Regions from separate parts of the Homo sapiens genome. Here region 1 is linked to region 2. The links are contacts of gene promoters, found by promoter capture Hi-C in human tissues and cell types (Jung and others, 2019). All regions are on one chromosome and are shown on one strand. Each heading gives the region's core, a stretch centred on a gene start or on the middle of the fragment in contact. The rest is flanking DNA. Distances are from core to core; before and after follow the strand shown. Region 1 overlaps LACC1 (laccase domain containing 1). Region 2 holds the start of SERP2 (stress associated endoplasmic reticulum protein family member 2).

Region 1 (3,915 bases), core at 1,310-3,809, 490 kb before region 2:
CCCTTACACACACACACACGTACTCATGCTGGGACCATGTAGACACCCCAATTCATCTAACATGCACTTCTTTGGGATGTGGGAGGAAGCTGGAGTACCCAGAGAAAACCCATGTGGACGTGAGGAGAAGGTGCAAACCTCACACAGTCAGTGACCGGGTGGGTAATCAATTTTTTTCATTAACATTATAATGAAATGATGTGGAATAAAATGACATTATTCAAGAGCCTACTGTATATTTCATCTGGAGTCCTCAATTCTAAAAGTACAGTTAATTCTCAGAGAGTATACTACCACTGCTCTTTTTGATTTAGAAGAAAGGGAACTGAATGGTGGTAGAGAAAGGCCATTATTTTATAAATCTACTCCAGGAGGAACTAGGGTCATAGTTGATGAGATAATGTCTTGTTCCTTACAGAATTCTAGCTTTACTTGAGTCTTGGAAAAGTAAAAGTATCATTGATTTGTTAATTAACTTTCCTTTACAAGAAAAATTTTCATTTTGTAGAAAGTGCTATAAGAAATGATATACCTATCTTTATGGAAAGATGTTCATTATTCACTATATTGAATTTTATAATGTTAAACTCTGCTTTTCTTTGCATAAACTATCAGAGATTATAATCTAAAATCTTAAATAGTTAAATTATAAGTAAATTTTGTGTTTTCCCATATATAAAAGTGATATATTTAATGAATGCTAGTAATCTTAAACTGGTTATATAATTTTATACTACAATGAGTACCTTCGAGAAAGCTTATGGTATAAGAAATACTATTTCCAAAACATTTTTGTTGCACATTTTTGGTATTAGACTCATCATTCCAATGACATCTGGATTATGGGAAGAAAGGAGCCTGACTCTTATGATGGAATAACCACAAATCAGAGAGGAGTCACAATAGCAGCTCTTGGTGCAGACTGTATACCGATAGTTTTTGCAGATCCAGTCAAAAAAGCATGTGGGGTTGCTCACGCTGGTAAGTATACTTAATTAAACATTTAGAATTTTACTCATTTTGTTGTGCAGGAAAAATTGTAATTTCTTTCTGATGGACATGGCAAACAGTTAATTACATTACACTGTGGTAAGTGTAATGATGGGAGAGGCGGCATAGTTTTATTATAGGGACAGCTAAGAGGAGTATCTGCATCAAATTATATGAATTATAGTAGAATTCCCAAAGGAGGTGGCACCTAGGTTGATTCCTGAGGAATTTGTTGGTTTTGGCTGGGTAACAGTGTTCCTTAGCAAGGGTGCTATTAACATTTTGGGCAGGATAATCCCACATTGCAGATTAAGTGTCTTTAGCCCCTGAAATCCTTAATGACAGTAGCACCTCTAGTTACTGTAATAACCAAGACCAACCAACCAACCAATCAAACAACAACGAAACCCTCCAAGCTTTTCAAAACACTCCCTAGGGGAGTGGTACTGCCTCTGGTTGAGAATCCTTGAAATCCAGGCCATAGGAAATAGGAATGTTAGGCATGTTGCAGAGAAGTGTTCACCCAGATGGAGCTGCATGTGTAAAGCTAGGGAGGTAGGAAAAAGCAAGATGTTTTGAAAACTGTTTTTAGTTTACATCACTTAATGTATTTAACTGTAACTATTCTCTGAGAGCAAAGAAGTATTTTTAGAAGGTATATTGTGTTAAGGATATGGAATTTTGTTTTCTGAAGGTATTTTAAAATAGTATTTTAGATTACCCCATAGCTGTGATTTTGTGTGAAATGAGGGATGATCTTTAAAATTTCCTTCTACTTGTAAATCTATGGCTACTTTGCTTTTTAGCTCATAGGTAAAAAAGAAAGTAGCATATTTTTATTTTGACCTAGCTGAAATAATGGGATTGAATGAGTAGAAGTCAGGTTTACTACATGACATTGTCAAAAAGTTATTTAAAATTTGAGTCTTGGCTCCTGGATATAAAAAGAGGATATTATTTTTTTACTTCTTAGGTTCGAAAACATTTAGTTTAAACATATCCAAGATCAAGCAGTCAAAATGAAGTTATAAATGTGAATTTCAAGTCATTAATAAGTTAATTTTGAAAGAATAAAATACCTAGGAATACAGTTACCTTAACCAAGGAGATTAAAGGTCTCTACAATGAGAAGTACAAAACACTGCTGAAAGAAAGCAGAGATAATATAAACAAATGGAAAAACATTCCATGCTCATGGATAGGAAGAATCAATATTGTTAAAATGGCCACACTGCCCAAAGCAATTTATAGATTCAATGCTACTCCTATCAAACTACCAATGTCATTTTTCACAGATTTAGAAAAAACTATTTTAAAATTCACATGGAACCAAAAAAGAGCCCAAATAGCCAAAGCTATCCTAAGCAAAAAGAATAAAGCTGGAGGAGTCATATTGCCTCCCTTCAAGCTGTACTCCAAAGTTACAGTTACCAAAACAGCATGGTACTGGTACCAAAACTGACACATAGGCCAATAGAACAGGATAGAGAACCTAGAAATAAAGCCACACACCTACAACCATCTGATCTTTGACAAAGTCGACAATAACAAGCAATGAGGAAAGGAATCCCTGTTCCATAAATGGTGCTGGCATAACTGGCTAGCCATATGTAGGAAATTGATACTAGATCCCTTCCTTTCACCATATACAAAAACTAACTCAACATGGGTTAAAGACTTAAACATATAGCCTAAAACTATTAAAACCCTAGGAGGAAACCTAGGAAATGCCATTCTGGACATAGGCATAGGCCTTGGCAAAGATTTCATGGTGAAGACTTCAAGAGCAAACAAAAACAAAAATAGTCAAGTGGGACCCAATTAAACTAAGGAGCTTCTGCACAGCAAAAGAAACTATCAACAGAGTAAACAGAAAACCTACAGAATTGGAGAAAATATTTGCAAACTATGCAGCTGAAAAGGTCTAACACCGAGACTCTATAAGGAACTTAAATCAACAAACAAATAACAATCAATCCCATTAAAAAATGGGCAAAGGACATGAACAAACGCTTCTCAAAAGAAGACTTACACGTGGTCAACAAGCATATGAAAAAACGCTTGATATTACTAATCATTAGAGAAATGCAAATCACAACTACAATGAGATACCATTTCATACCAGTCAGAATGGCTGTTATAAAAAAAGTCAAAAAACAACAGATGTTGGTGAGATTGTGGAGAAAAGGAAATGCTTACACACTGCTAGTGGGAATGTAAATTAGTTCAGCCACTGTGGAAAGCAGTTTGTATATTTCTCAAAGAACTTAAAATTAGAACTACCATTCAACCCAGCAATCCCATTACTGGGTATATACCCAAAGGAATATAAATTATTCTGCCATAAAGACACATGCACACGTATGTTCATCACAGCACTTTTCACAATAATGAAGACATGGAATCAACTTAGATGCCCATCAGTGGTGGACTGGATAAAGAAAATATGGTACATATACATAATGGAATACTATAAAGCCATAAAAAAGAATGAAATCATATCCTTACAGCAACATAGATGCAGCTGGAAGCCATCCTAAATGAATTAATGCAGGAACAGAAAATCAGATACCATATGTATCCTTTAAGTGGGAGCTACACATTGAGTACACATGGACACAAAAAAAGGGACAATGGACATGGGGGCTTACTTAAGGGTGGTGGGTGGGAGGAGGGTGACGACTGAAGAACTGTCTGTTCGGTACTATGTCCACTACTTGGGTGATGAAATCGTTTGTACACGAAACCCCAGTGACATGCAATTTACCCATGTAACAAACCTGCATATATGTACCCCGAACCTAAAAAGTTGGAAGAATAAAAATAAATTAACTTTAAAATATAATATAATTAGCTACATTGTATACTACTTTTATCAGATATCAAAAAGAATAAAATTCTTCTATGGGACTAATTTAATAAAGA
Region 2 (3,819 bases), core at 1,124-3,623:
GATATTTTCATCACTCTGGAGAGTCCAAGGAATTTAAGAGTTTTAGGTCAGGAAACAGGGACTACAATCAAATATATATTTCACAATATCACACGCAGATATACCTGCACAAGTACACACTGATCTATGTACAGGGATATTCACTGAAGCATTGTTGGCAACCACAAAAAAAGAAAAACTGGAAATAATCATCCATGGTTACATCAGTTCAATATATTACTGTATAATCATACTATGAGACATAACACAACTACAAGAAAGAGGTCATATATAAGTGATATGATAATGTTGATATATTAAGTTAGAAGAGCACGTGGCAGAACAGTTTGCATACTACTATTCCGTTTTTTTTTAGAAGGGAATATACAAATAGTCTTGTATATACTGGAAGGGCAACCCAGGAACCGTGGGAACTTTTTGGGGAGGGTGGCAAGGAAAGAGAGACCTTTACTTTTCATTTTCTATCCTATTTCTGTTTGACTATTTACTGTGTAGATGTAGTCTACTCATAATTAAAACAAACTAATTTAAAATGCCGGAAAAGTGAAGCATAGCAGGAAAAAGGAGTCAACAGTAAAGAAAAATTTTCCCCAAAAGGGGCTTCTCTCAGTTAAGAACACTTCTGAACTGTACTCACTGAATGTGAAGACCCAAAGAGAAAACAGTCTCTGTCTGTGTCTTTTCCTTAATGTCGCTCAGAGCCAGACCTCTACTCACCTGGTGAGGACCTGGGTCAGTCTCCTGGTATTTGGACATGATCTGAGAGGAGTGAGTCAGGTAAAGGAACCTTCTGGACCACAGACAACAGCCAGGCTCAGCAGGGATCACTGAGGTAGGAATCCCCCCACCCAAACCCCTAAAAAAGAGCCAACAGTTATTAAAAACATGGGACTAGAGTGGGGCAGACTGGGTTTATGGTCCTGTTACAACAGTGGTGATGCTAACAGTTAAAAGACCATAGAAGCTTGTTTCAAATTAATTGGCCTGTAGAGTAGGAAAAAAAAAAAATGACTCTACTAATGATCCTAGGCAATTCTGTCTTCTAGGTTACAGCAAGCAGCCCCCAGAATGGCCTTTATTGAAGCCTGAGTGACAAGAAGCCTGTAGCGGGGTGAGGGGGACCCGCTTGGAAAAAGGCCCCAAAAGAGGAGCTCTTCCTAACTCTCCAATGACATGGGAAAATTTTACTCACACAAAATTCCCTGGAAACCCAGCCACCTCCCGCTCCAAGAGAAGGCCTAGAGATGCAGTGGCCAGAGACAGCCTCAGGCCTTCTTCCCCATGCTGGGGGTGCTGCTGCTTGCCTTCACCCCGACCCGGTATCCCCACTTCCCGCTGCCCCAGATCTCCCAGGCTGAATGTCCCCTCTTCGCCTCCACTCTTCTGAGCTTCTAAGAGCTAACTCCAAGTGAGGAACTGAACCCCTTCCACCCCTACCTCCCCAGGCAATCTGTAGAGCTCTTGAGCCCTAATACCAGTGTCTGGGAGGCGCGTAAACGCTTCCATTTTTATCCTTCCACTGCAGAAAATGCCCAGTTTAGTCTGGGAGACACTCAGACCCCTCGGGACAAGGGTGGCTAGAGAGAGGTCCAAGCTGCCCTGGGTGGGTGGGGAGTCAAGGCAGGCCAAAGCTTCAGATTTAGACAGTAACCACCAAATCCGACCTGGGCTGCAGGTCCAAGGCCTCTTCCTCTTTCCTGCATGCTCCGCTCTGCCGCTGGCCCATCTTCCAATGCAACCCCTACAACTACCAAAGCAAAAAGGCCTGTCCCAACTCCATCCTCACGGCCCGATCCCCAACCCTCAGGGGATGCCGCTTCGTGTCTCCTCTTTATTTTACAACGCGGCCCTCCTTGCAGCCCTCACGAAAAGTTCTGCAGTGGGGTCCCCCAGCGTGGGGCCCTTCTCGAGACCCTTAAAGAGAAGGCTCGTTTGGTGGACCATACCCGGGCAGCGCGGGCCCGGGCCTGGACTGGTTCTACTTGTGTTCTGAGGTCCCTGACCACCGCCTTGGGTCCAGCCCTCGTCCAGGGGGCGGCGGTGCAGGGGAGACCGCGCGGCCCGGCCTGAAGCGCGGCCGCCCTCATCCCTTCCCCGGGGCTGGGGTGGGTCACCGGCCGACAAACACAGGAGGGGCCGCGTCCCCGTCCCCGACGCGCTCACAAACGCCGTGGTCGCCCGAACCTTCGGCCCCGCAGCATTCGGCTACAGGACCGCGACACTGCAGGGCCCCGGCTCTGCGCGCTGCGCTCCGGCCGCTCGGCGCGGGAGGACGTGCGGTCGCGCCTGCCTCGGTGGCCGCGCGGGGTAGGTGGCTGCGGGGACCGGAAGGATGGCGAGGAAGTCGGAAAGGGTTTCCTGAGATGAGAGATTACTTCCGTCCGGGCTGCGGCCTCTCTCTGGAGTCGGCTAGCCGGGGCTCGGGGAGCGGGGTGCGCAGGGCTCGGGGCCACGCCTTGCCACCTGCAGCGCCCGGGTGGGCCGCGGGGGCCTCGGCGGGACGCGCTCGGCCCTGTCGCAGGAGCTAACGCAGGGGGAATCCTTGCAGGTGGGAGCATTTCAGAGCGCACAAGCCATGGTGGCCAAACAGCGGATCCGGATGGCTAACGAGAAGCACAGCAAAAACATCACCCAGAGGGGGAACGTAGCCAAAACCCTGGTAAGGCGGGGTCGGCGCCGGCCAGGCAGAGCCCTGCAGCCCGGCGGGGTGGGGCGGAAGGTGGGGGCGGGGCCGGGCGGGTAGCGGCGCAGGGTCCGGCCTCCCGGCTCCCGGCCCGCCCCTTCTGCGGGGTCCTGCAGAGTGGGGGCTGAGAGCTGGGTTCAGGGCGGCGCGGTCTGCTTGGCGTCCTCGTGGGCGGAGAGGGCCCTGGTTGGTCGTGGCCCCTCTGGGAGTGGCTACCTGGGCTACCAGGGAGGCGCAGAGGAGCCCTCCTCCCCGACCCGCACCCCCTGTCCCCCTGCCCGGGAGACAGCTGGGCCTTGTCCCGGAGAAAGACGGAAAGCCTCATCCTTAGGGGCCAGTTAAGTCAACTGCATGACACAGAGCCTGGAACCTAGTATGTTCTAGAACGTTGCATGACACAGAGCCTGGAACCTAGTATGTTCTAGAACGTTTGTTGAATGAATGAATGAATCAATGGCTAAATGGAGGCCACTTGTCATCTCCTCCCGGACTCCACCTGTCTTCCCTCCCCAACAGACTTGCACCAGGATCAAGTTTTCTTTCCAGCCCCTTTGTGACGGTTTCACTGGAGGTGTGGAAAGAGCTCAAAATGGGGAGTGAGATTTGGACCCACATTCCCTCCAGCCTCTTTTTTCTCTTTTACCTCTCTTCCAGCGAGACCTCCCTCAGCCCCTAGGCTAAAGTCTAAGGGCAGCATTCCTATTCTTTCCACTTGGTGAATTCAGACTCATTCTCATGGTATAACTTTAGAGACCAGTTTATTGTCAGGCATTCGGTGTCCCTAGAACTGTAAATTCAAGCTTTGCAACTGGACTTTTAAGTAAAACCTGTGCCTTACACTCAGGAGTTTCTTTTAGCAAAGCAGATTATCATCAACAGAAAATGCGAGGCCTGTGACTTTGGACATTCAGAGGCATGAGTCGCATGGGTAGTTTGGCGAAGTTGGTCTCCAAGTATATGAGCAAAGGCGCCTGGGATCTGTTACCCCGTACAGTTAAGTGGAAATCCAGCTGAAGCCTGGAGTTTGGCTGGGAAAGCTTGCAGATTTGATGAATCAATTCCTTTTAGCCAAAGAAACTATATTGGTTTGATTAACTAAGCAAAAAGCTAGATCTGTAATCATCACACCAGAATTC

Evidence for each region. The method cuts DNA at HindIII sites, captures the fragments that hold promoters and counts their contacts. A contact is called where the count stands out against the background at its distance.
Region 1: a fragment that was not itself captured here is called in contact with the fragment with the promoter of SERP2 in region 2 in 3 of the 25 tissues and cell types used here (H1 embryonic stem cells, dorsolateral prefrontal cortex and mesendoderm cells).

The regions. Positions count from the first base shown.
Region 1 is chr13:43,882,956-43,886,870 of GRCh38, forward strand. LACC1 (laccase domain containing 1) reads left to right here. Exons shown (of 7, transcript NM_153218.4): 4 at 816-981. Among named protein-coding and RNA genes, the nearest start is that of LACC1, 5.0 kb to the left of the region's middle. The HindIII fragment of the contact is 5,982 bases long and covers 1-3,915 here.
Region 2 is chr13:44,371,451-44,375,269 of GRCh38, forward strand. SERP2 (stress associated endoplasmic reticulum protein family member 2) reads left to right here and starts at 2,374. Exons shown (of 3, transcript NM_001010897.3): 1 at 2,374-2,659. The coding sequence starts at 2,576. It overlaps LOC105370297 (a long non-coding RNA gene), which reads right to left and starts at 2,116. Exons shown (of 2, transcript XR_001749858.3): 1 at 1,947-2,116; 2 at 1-1,747. The HindIII fragment of the contact is 4,304 bases long and covers 1,298-3,819 here.